3 separate regions of the Homo sapiens genome follow, and all the other regions are linked to region 1. The links are contacts of gene promoters, found by promoter capture Hi-C in blood cells and fetal thymus (Javierre and others, 2016). All regions are on one chromosome and are shown on one strand. Each heading gives the region's core, a stretch centred on a gene start or on the middle of the fragment in contact. The rest is flanking DNA. Distances are from core to core; before and after follow the strand shown.

Region 1 (3,257 bases), core at 555-3,054:
TGAGAACCAACTCAAGAACTATCTAGGGGGTTCTGACCTGCTGCTTCCTTATTTCAGTGCCATTTTGTTACTGTGGTTCTGGCAGTGCTCCTCACTGAGGTCCCGTACACATCTTCCCACTGATAAAAATGAAGTTAGGACTAGATAATTAGTCATGGGGGCTAAGAAATAAAAAAGACCCGCTACATAAATTAGCCACCCAACACAGGGACAGACTGGCAGGGCATGTATGCAGTTACAAATTAATTCTTAACTGTAAAAACACTTGACTGAAGGGGGAAGAAAAATAGTCAAGAGTCTTAGGAAAGCTCCTTAGGAGCCATAAACTCAGTCAAGCTTTAGGGCAAGGCTGCTACTGGGAAATCAAGACAATAAAAAAATGAAACAAAACTCTAAAGCAGGAGAAAATCCCAGGGAGCAGCCAGCTAAAGGGGAAGTCCTGAGCACAAGTTACGGCTGTGAATTTTTAAAGGCAAAAGTGAAGTCCCTGGATGTGGTAACCTGCGTCCTGACCATCTGCCATAACATTTGCTAGTCTGAATCACTTCAGGGCCTATTCCTGTTGGGTACCTGATGGTAGAGGATGAGAAAACCGTGTTTTCTCTCCTTTGTCTTTAGGGGTGTGGCCTGTTCAGCACCAGCTCTGAAAAGCAGGAGGGGAAATTTAAAACAAATGCAGCAGAACCTGTTACCTGACTGGTTCACTAGGACAGGATATCACTTTAAGGAAACGGGAATCTTGTAGCTTAGAACATTTTCTCATTCCCCTGTGACAGTCAATTTTGGAGACAAAATAAGAAAGGAAGCTGGCAGTTATTTTGTATGTATGTTTAAGATGGAGGTAGGAAAGATGGAGAGAAGGACATTCTTGGCTTGCACAGATGGCAGAAAGTGGCTCTGGGACAACTGGAAGGGTTTCATACGGAAAGGCAATTAAAGCTGACCTATCTATCCACAGGCCTCTGGCTCTGAATTGCTTCCTATGGTCCTGGTAGAAACTGCATAGTTCAGAGCCAAGGGGAGATGAGAAGCCTTAACGTGGAAGAGGGACAAGAGAGATGAATTGCTCCCTCTGCAACCCAACTCTTCAAAGTAAGAATGGTTGAGAGCAATAGTCACCAATTTCCCAGGCCAGAACCTGGGGTCCTTTGCTGGGACCAGTTCTGCACTTTCCCTCTCCTCTTCCTCCCTCCTTTCAATCTTATACTCAAGTAAACCCACTCAGCATCTTGGCTATGACGCTTCAAGATCCTGGAGCACTGCATGTAAAGAGAAGAGAGAAGAAATGGGTTGAAGAAACTCTGGAGGACCTGGAAGACCTAGTGGCTAAGCTAGGAACCTGGTGAAAGAGAAAGAAGATAGTCCAGACGGTGATGGGCACTTGTGAACAGAAGACTCTAGCTCAGAAAAGCAGACAGATGTGTGAGGGGGAGAGATGGGGTAGAACAAAGGAACTCGAGAGTCCCCTACATGACAGCCTCCAGGAGGGCTGAGTCTGAAGTAGTTACAGAAGAGAGACAGGGGCGGTAATGTTGATAGGGGAATGAAGAGAGAGAAGCAGGAGCAGAAAAATGACCAAAGATGACAATATGCTTTGGCCGGTAAACTCTTATAAAACATAAAGGAATCGATTAATCCCTAACTTGATGGAACAAGCTTTGAAATACTTTGTTCCTGTCTGCCCTGATGGTTAAACTAAAGAAGGAGGGAGGGGAGGAGACAGAATCAGCCAGTCAGATTCTGGGCCCTTCCCTTTTCACTACCAAGCAATCTTTAATAATAAGGCCACAAAATGAGGTTGCCAAGGCTTAGTGGGGTGGTGGGAAAGACCCCACCACTACACTAAAGTCAAGGGACAAAATGAGGTACCCAAATAGCTCTGCAAATAGATGAAAAAGAATTAGAACTCTTGAGGGTTTCTTTCTTTTTGGTGGCAGGTAGAGAGAAGGAATAAAGCTTATGGAAAAACTGGAAAATACTGCTACTTCATACATCAAAGGTAACCTTACATTCTCCGTAAGTGAATGTTTTAACTAGAATTAAGGAAGAGGAAAAAGGAAACGGGTAAATAAGCAGCTATGGGAGACCTGAGTCCTGAGTCCATGGGGTGGCTGGGGCTGGGTCAGCGGGTAATATGTCATCAAATCTAGCCTCCCTCTATCTGGCAGGAAGTGGCATGCTGGTAAGGAACAAAAAGGTAACAGCCACGGCTTAGTGGGAAGAGAGGGAACTGAGAAACCCCAAACCTAGAAGTGCCAAGGGTTAGTGTTAAAAGAGACAGATACACGTGCATGGGGCAGGGGTGATTGTTCGGACCATCTGGAAAGGCCTTTGGCTGTGGATGCATCAGAAACCCCACCCTGGGGGATGATCTATGAGGCTCCGGGGCTGGGAGGCCCCCAGCACAGGTGTCAAACGTACATGACCACATGGCTAAAAAGCCCCATATCTGTCCATTACTCACAACACACAATTCCCCCCACCCATATTGCCATGTCCAAGGCAGATGGGAGGGGATAAGATGACATCTCTCTTGGCTCTTGGGCGGGCGAGCTCTGGCTGAGGACCTCTCCACCAGAGGAGGCATCATCTGCCCGCAGACTGGGACTGTGGGGTCATGATTACATGCGATTGTATCGGCATGCTCAGTTCTGTCCTTTGGCTGGCCATCTGAGTGAGGACCGAGGTGGCCACAGCTTCAGCTGCAGAGCGAACACTGAGGCCATTGCTAGGGGCTGTTGCTGAGCTGTGCTGAATCACAGGGGCTGGAGAACCCGTTGGCTCTGAGCTTTCCTTGGGGCTTTCTGCCAGGAAGGAGGGCAAAGAGCAGAGAGCAATTGGTTAGAAAACAGAATGGGGAAAGAGGCAGGACTACCTTTTGCCATAATTCTAAAGGAGCCCAAAAGGGAAATGAAACCCATCTTTTTTTTGGGGAAAACTTCCCAGAATCCTGGCTTCTAAGTCATAAATGGGCTAGGAAATGGGAAGTTGTAAGAAGGGAAGAACTAGGCCAAAATTAACCTATCTATTCCAATAAAATGAATCTCCAACATGTTAATTACACTGTCTGGTTTCTAGGTCTTTGCATAGTTCATTACCAACTCTTATTATTATTCATTACTTCTATTCTTTCTTGTTTTTAAGAGATAGGGTCTCAAGTGATCCTCCTGCCTTGGCCTCTCAAAGTGCTGGGATTATAGGCATGAGCCACTGCGCCTGGCCTTCATTTCTTTAAAGATGATTTAAAATAGATCTCT
Region 2 (3,257 bases), core at 399-2,898, 420 kb before region 1:
GTGTGCAGCAGGACCCCAGTACTCTGGAACCCATCTCTGACAGCCTTGGTTCCAGGGAGCTTGGTCAGAGCTTGTGGCAGGGGGTTGAAGAGCCTTGGTGGAAGGGGTGCTTTCTCTCACCCCTTTCCCAATTTTGCCCTTCCTCTCCTCTGCCCTGGTCTACTTCTCCCATCAGCAGTAGCTTCTCCCATCAGCTGCCCCACAACCCTCTCCTCCCTGCCTCTCCAGTCTGCATCAGTATCTCAGGGAAACAGGAAAACACCATTCTCCAAACACATGTCCTAGGGTCCCAGGGTTGCATGGCGAAGCGGGCTGTGCTGACAATGAGGTTCGTATTATTTCTATTTACCTAAAAGTTCAAGAAGGCCTTGCTGACATTGTTGCTTGGGGCCCAGCATTTAAACTTAGTCACTGCCCAGAGCCCTTGTTTTAGGAAAGAATGAGATGGTCCCTGTTGCATAACCCAGAGTTGGGTGGGTGTGGGTTGCCGAAGGAAACAATCCCTCTTCCTCTCTCTTGTGAGGCCTGGCTAGGAGTGCCTGGGATGGGCGGGACACTGCCTGGGGAAGGCGGGTGGGGAGCGGTGGAACCCGACCCTTGGAGCGAAGGCGGACAAGTAGGTAGGCAAAGATGCTGAGTAGTCCCTCCCCAAAGTCCCCTGGGCACAAGACAGTCTGATGAATCTAGAAAACCCCATGGATGACTGGGAGGGAAGGAAACGGATTCTGGGAGAGGAGAGGAATGGAGGAGCGAGCTTACCTGAAGGACGGGGATGGGGAGGGGGGTGGGGTCTGCTCTCTGGCCACTGTCCCCAAGAGCATCCCGAATACGAGTTCCTTTAATTCTCTCCCTCTCTAGTTTCAACCTGCCAATTTCCCCCTTTCCCTGCCTCCCAGCCAGTTCTCACCCTGCACACAGCCCTCTCCAATCCTTCCAGACTCCGCATGCGCCCACCACAATGCTAGGGTCTCCTACGGTTCATTCAAGTTGTATCCCTCCCTGCCTCCCGGCCCTTCCCCCATTGGCTTACCCCAGTCTGGTTCCCCTCGGGCCCCTTTTCTCCATAGTCTTACCTCAAGGGTGCTTTCTCTTACTCCTTTCCCAATTTTGCCCTTCCTCTCCTCTGCCCTGTTCTACTTCTCCCATCAGCAGTAGAATTTCCCAAGACCCCGTTATCCACCCTCTCCATCTTTTCTCTGTCCCTCCACATTTGCCCACTCCTCTTGTGATCCACACACACCATCTCTTCTCAGTTCCCTTTCAGCCCCCGTCTTCTCACTCCCCACCGGGTCCCTGCATGCCCCTCGTCGTCCTACACATACACACTAAGTGGATTGCACTCCCGTCCTCCCCTTCTTCCGCTCCTCCCCACCCTCCAGTCCCTCCAGCCAGCTGTACAGCTCCCAAATTCCGGGCCGAGATTCCCGGGAACAAAGCAAGAAAAATCAGAGCAATTTGGGAAGTAAACAGAAACTGGAAAGGGAGAGGGAAAGAAGAGTGGGGAGGACCCAGGTTGGGGGGGCCCTCTCCAGTCCCACCCAGTTTAGGGAATGCCCCTGCCCTCTCCCCCACCCCCCTTCACCTGGCTCTTAAAGGGCCCGGCCCCTGGCCGGCGGCTACTTAAGACAGAGGGGCGGCGGCGGGCAGCAGCTGCGCTGCGACTGCTCTGGAAGGAGAGGACGGGGCACAAACCCTGACCATGACCCCCCACAGGCTGCTGCCACCGCTGCTGCTGCTGCTAGCTCTGCTGCTCGCTGCCAGCCCAGGAGGCGCCTTGGCGCGGTGCCCAGGCTGCGGGCAAGGGGTGCAGGCGGGTTGTCCAGGGGGCTGCGTGGAGGAGGAGGATGGGGGGTCGCCAGCCGAGGGCTGCGCGGAAGCTGAGGGCTGTCTCAGGAGGGAGGGGCAGGAGTGCGGGGTCTACACCCCTAACTGCGCCCCAGGACTGCAGTGCCATCCGCCCAAGGACGACGAGGCGCCTTTGCGGGCGCTGCTGCTCGGCCGAGGCCGCTGCCTTCCGGCCCGCGCGCCTGCTGGTGAGTCCGCGCCCCGCCCCTGCCCCGCCCACGTGAGACCCGCGTCCTCCAGGCAGGGTCCTGGGGAGACGGGAGTGGGTGGCCCGGCAAGCCTTTCCGCCCTGGCCCTTGACGCTTCCGACTTTGGGGGGCACATTTGTGTGGGGGAGAAGGGGCAAGTGCAGGAAGCTGAGGTGCAGCCAGGGGACCTGGTGATACAGCAGAAGGTGTCTGCGCTCTCGGCCTTCTTTTTTGCTCCATTTATTTTCCCTTGATGGAGTGTGCGTGCAGGTGGGAACTTGGGGGAGGCAGGGGGAGAAATGGGAGGGTTTTAGGGCCATCCCATGGGCTCCAGCAGGCCCAGCTCCTACAACCCTAGACGGCCAAGCTGGGGAAAGGACCCAAATGTTGTTCTCAGCTTCCACTTGGAGAAAAGGGGAGGGGAACCCCAGACTCTGAAATTCTGCACACACTGAGAAATGACTCCTTTCCTCCTAATACCGGTGTTCGAAGCACCTAAACAGGAGGCGTCTAGAACCGAAGAGGCCCCAAATCCAGGGTTGTATTAGACTTGAGTAGGGACTGAGGGCAGGCTAGGGCGTAGGTTAGGGGAGAGGGGAGAAAGAGTAGGGGAAAGAGGGAATCTGCCAAATCAGGGTTATGATTTAAACCTGCTCAGAATCGTTCACCCATCCTACCCCACCCTGCTCCAGGGAGGAGAGCAGAAGCTGAGTCACTGGGTGGGTGGGACAGAAGTGAATCAGCCGTGAAAACATGGGGGGCAGCGGGGAGATGGGGAGGGCAGGAAATGCAAACTGCGCATCCCAGAGGCTCTGGGTTCCTTCCACGGGAGGGGATGGAGAATTCACTTGGAGTTTCTTTCAGTTCCAAATGCCCGAGTGCAGGCTTCTGGGCGTCCTCCTAAAAGGTGGTCTGGGTGGATGAGAGGAGGCAGTTTGGAACTAAATGGTTGGGTGCTAAATGTAGGGAATGAAGGAGAAGGTCTGGGGAGGGGTGGGCATCCTGAGGAAGAAGGATCAGACTCAGGATTGCAGGGGAAATGTCTCCTGGGTTGTGAGTGGTAGTTAGCTGGGAGCTTGTCTTTAGGCACAGAGGAAGAGGATCCCTTCAGGGGTTCTGATATCTGATTAGATGTTAGGCAAATTCCAAGCAGTCAGTACATGCTCCCCTTTCTGCCTTTTCCTGTCCCTGACTTATTTCCTCACCCCTTCCCAGTCCTGAGCT
Region 3 (3,257 bases), core at 421-2,920, 260 kb before region 1:
AGACGGGGTTTCGCCATATTGGCCAGGCTAGTCTTGAACTCCTGACCTCATGATACGCCCGCCTCGGCCTCCCAAAGTGCTGGGATTACAGGTGTGAGCCACCGCGCCCAGCAATTTTTTGTATTATTAGTAGGCATGGGGTTTCGACATGTTGGCCAGACTGGTCTTAAATTCCTGGCCTCAAGTGATTCACCCACCTTGGCCTCTCAAAGTGTTGAGATTACAGGTGTGAGCCACCACACCTGGCCAAGATAGTAAATAAATAAACAAGGAAAATACATAGTGTACTGCAGAGTAAAAGCAGCAGAGAGAATAGAAAATTGGAAGGAAAGTAGGTAGATTACTGTGCTGGAGGTGGTGGTGTTGCTATTTTAAACAGGAGGGCCATGGAAGGCCCCTCTGATCAGGTGACATTTTTTAAAATTTTATTTTATTTTTTATTTTTTTGTGAGACAGAGTCTCGCTCTGTCACCCAGACTGGAGTGCAGTGGCGTGATCTTGGCTCACTGCAACCTCTGCCTCCCTGGTTCAAGCGATTCTCCTGCCTCAGCCTCCCGAGTAGGTGGGATTACAGGTGCCCACCACCATGCCTGGCTAATTTTTATATTTTTTTACTAGCGACGGGGTTTCACCATGTTGGCCAGGCTGATCTTGAACTCCTGACCTCAACTGATCGGCCTGCCTCAGCCTCCTAAACTGCTGGGATTACAGGAATGAGCCACCAGGCCCAGCCAAGATCAGGTGACATTTGAACAGAGAACTGGAGGAGGTGGGGGGGGGAACCACGTGGATATCTTGGAGAAGAACTGTACAGGGAACAGTGTGCAAAAGCCCTGGTGGTAGCCAACATAGATGGGAGGGAGAGGAGCAGGGGATGAAGTCAGAGGAGTGGCAGAGGGTCAGAGGACAGAGGGTCTTGTAGGCCATTATAAATACTTCGGCTTTTACCCTTAGTGAGATGGGAAGTCATTGGAGGCTCTTGAGGAGATGATACGGAAGCTGTAGAGAGGTTAAATAGTTTTTCCAAGGTAAAACAGCTTGTAAGTGGCAGAAGGTAGGGAATTAAGCTCCAAGGCTGAAGTTCTTAACCCCATGCTGCCACTGAACTTTAGCCTTCTTTATTTGGGCATTGCTATCCTGTGACTTCAAAGAAACTGGGACACTGGGAAGTTATGCGGCTTGCCCAAGGCCACACAGCTGGTAAGTGACAGGGGCAGGACTGCGCCTTAGTCTGTCTGCAGCCCGACTCCAAGTTCTTTACACCACACCGCCTCCCTCAGGTGTCTGGACCATACTGGCTTCTCTTGCATGGAGGTCACTGCAGTGGGAGAGGAGGCAAACCAAGGAGACCTTCTCGGCTTCGGGCAGCGGTGCTGTTCCTTAGGAAGCTCCAACCCTTGGCTCTACCGGACTGCGGGCATCTTTCCCGAGCACTGCACGGAAGAAAAGAAAATTGGCACTTATTTCAGGGTGGCCCCTCAGGCATCCAAGAGCCAGAGGAGCAGGTGTCACGGGATGGCAGCGAGCGAGGCCAGGCCAGGAGAAGCAACCGCAGCCTCCTATGGTCGCCCCTTCCCGACCCACCCCAGGCGTCAGGAGTTCCGCGCCCGGGTAAGGGAAGGAGGGCGGGCGGGCGGGGCGGGGCGGGGTTTTGGCGCCGCGCCCCCGTCACGTGATGAAGCCATCATGGCGGCGGCCAGAGGCCTGCCCGGCTCCCGGAAGCAGGCTGTGAGGGGCGGGAGCGCTGCTGGAACCCGAGCCGGAGCCGGAGCCACAGCGGGGAGGGTGGCCTGGCGGCCTGGAGCCGGACGTGTCCGGGGCGTCCCCGCAGACCGGGGCAGCAGGTGAGGCGGAGTCTGGGCGAGGTGCAAGTGGATGTGGCAGGGCTGGGCAGGGGCTAGGGGGCGCAGTGGGGTGCCAGTGACCTGGAGGAGTGGGCCTCTGAGATGCACACGCATGACCCTGAAGCAACTCGAGAGGCCTGCGCGGGTGGGAGGGATGCCCGGGACAGAGGATGAGACACTGAGGGCAAAAAGAGGCTCCGCAGCGAGGACGGGAGGTAATAGAAGGAAGTGTACGGGAGCTGCTGTGGGAAAGGGCAGTAGAATTTGCGGGAGCGGGATTATTGAAAGGGACTCCCTCTTCACAGGCAAGGATGGGTTGAGTGCCCAGTCCTCTCCCCTGTCTTCTTACCCCTCCCTGCCCCACAGTGTCCTAGGAGACAGCTTTGGCGTGGCCACTCCTCCCACCCACCCAACTGGTCCCTCCGGTCTGAGATCTTGGGGAGTGGAGTTGGCAGCGGGGTTGGGTGGAGCTGCCATCTGCTTAAGACAGCCCCTTGACCGTGCTGCCCGAAGGATGGATATGGCTCTGACTCCCACCTCTCTTCCCAGGTCGTCCGGGGGCCCACCATGCTGGTGACTGCCTACCTTGCTTTTGTAGGCCTCCTGGCCTCCTGCCTGGGGCTGGAACTGTCAAGATGCCGGGCTAAACCCCCTGGAAGGGCCTGCAGCAATCCCTCCTTCCTTCGGTTTCAACTGGACTTCTATCAGGTCTACTTCCTGGCCCTGGCAGCTGATTGGCTTCAGGCCCCCTACCTCTATAAACTCTACCAGCATTACTACTTCCTGGAAGGTCAAATTGCCATCCTCTATGTCTGTGGCCTTGCCTCTACAGTCCTCTTTGGCCTAGTGGCCTCCTCCCTTGTGGATTGGCTGGGTCGCAAGAATTCTTGTGTCCTCTTCTCCCTGACTTACTCACTATGCTGCTTAACCAAACTCTCTCAAGACTACTTTGTGCTGCTAGTGGGGCGAGCACTTGGTGGGCTGTCCACAGCCCTGCTCTTCTCAGCCTTCGAGGCCTGGTATATCCATGAGCACGTGGAACGGCATGACTTCCCTGCTGAGTGGATCCCAGCTACCTTTGCTCGAGCTGCCTTCTGGAACCATGTGCTGGCTGTAGTGGCAGGTGTGGCAGCTGAGGCTGTAGCCAGCTGGATAGGGCTGGGGCCTGTAGCGCCCTTTGTGGCTGCCATCCCTCTCCTGGCTCTGGCAGGGGCCTTGGCCCTTCGAAACTGGGGGGAGAACTATGACCGGCAGCGTGCCTTCTCAAGGACCTGTGCTGGAGGCCTGCGCTGCCTCCTGTCGGACCGCCGCGTGCTGCTGTTGGGCACCATACAAGCTCTATTTGAGAGTGTCATCTTCATCTTTGTCTTCCTCTGGACACCTGTGCTGGACCCACACGGGGCCCCTCTGGGC

Evidence for each region. Contacts are between HindIII fragments. The CHiCAGO score rates a contact against its expected background, and 5 or more counts as called.
Region 2: the fragment with the promoter of IGFBP6 here is called in contact with a fragment that was not itself captured in region 1 in 2 of 17 cell types (total B cells and naive B cells); the score reaches 6.1 in total B cells.
Region 3: a contact is called between the fragment with the promoter of SLC61A1 here and a fragment that was not itself captured in region 1, in 1 of 17 cell types (erythroblasts). The highest score is 5.2, in erythroblasts.

What each region holds. Positions count from the first base shown.
Region 1 is chr12:53,514,551-53,517,807 of GRCh38, forward strand. ATF7-NPFF (ATF7-NPFF readthrough) reads right to left here. Exons shown (of 15, transcript NR_159377.1): 12 at 2,465-2,804. ATF7 (activating transcription factor 7) reads right to left here. Exons shown (of 12, transcript NM_006856.3): 12 at 1-2,804. The coding sequence ends at 2,587. It overlaps ATF7-AS1 (ATF7 antisense RNA 1), which reads left to right. Exons shown (of 3, transcript NR_046221.1): 3 at 959-3,058. Among named protein-coding and RNA genes, the nearest start is that of ATF7-AS1, 2.2 kb to the left of the region's middle. RefSeq lists a silencer at 1,331-1,572 and an enhancer at 2,539-3,038. The HindIII fragment of the contact is 300 bases long and covers 1,655-1,954 here.
Region 2 is chr12:53,096,019-53,099,275 of GRCh38, forward strand. IGFBP6 (insulin like growth factor binding protein 6) reads left to right here and starts at 1,649. Exons shown (of 4, transcript NM_002178.3): 1 at 1,649-2,033. The coding sequence starts at 1,700. RefSeq lists silencers at 1,957-2,036, 2,047-2,166. The HindIII fragment of the contact is 8,294 bases long and covers 1-3,257 here.
Region 3 is chr12:53,250,425-53,253,681 of GRCh38, forward strand. SLC61A1 (solute carrier family 61 member 1) reads left to right here and starts at 1,671. Exons shown (of 2, transcript NM_032889.5): 1 at 1,671-1,844; 2 at 2,394-3,257. The coding sequence starts at 2,412. RefSeq lists enhancers at 1,334-1,383, 1,517-2,188 and silencers at 1,654-1,933, 1,944-1,993. The HindIII fragment of the contact is 5,764 bases long and covers 1-3,257 here.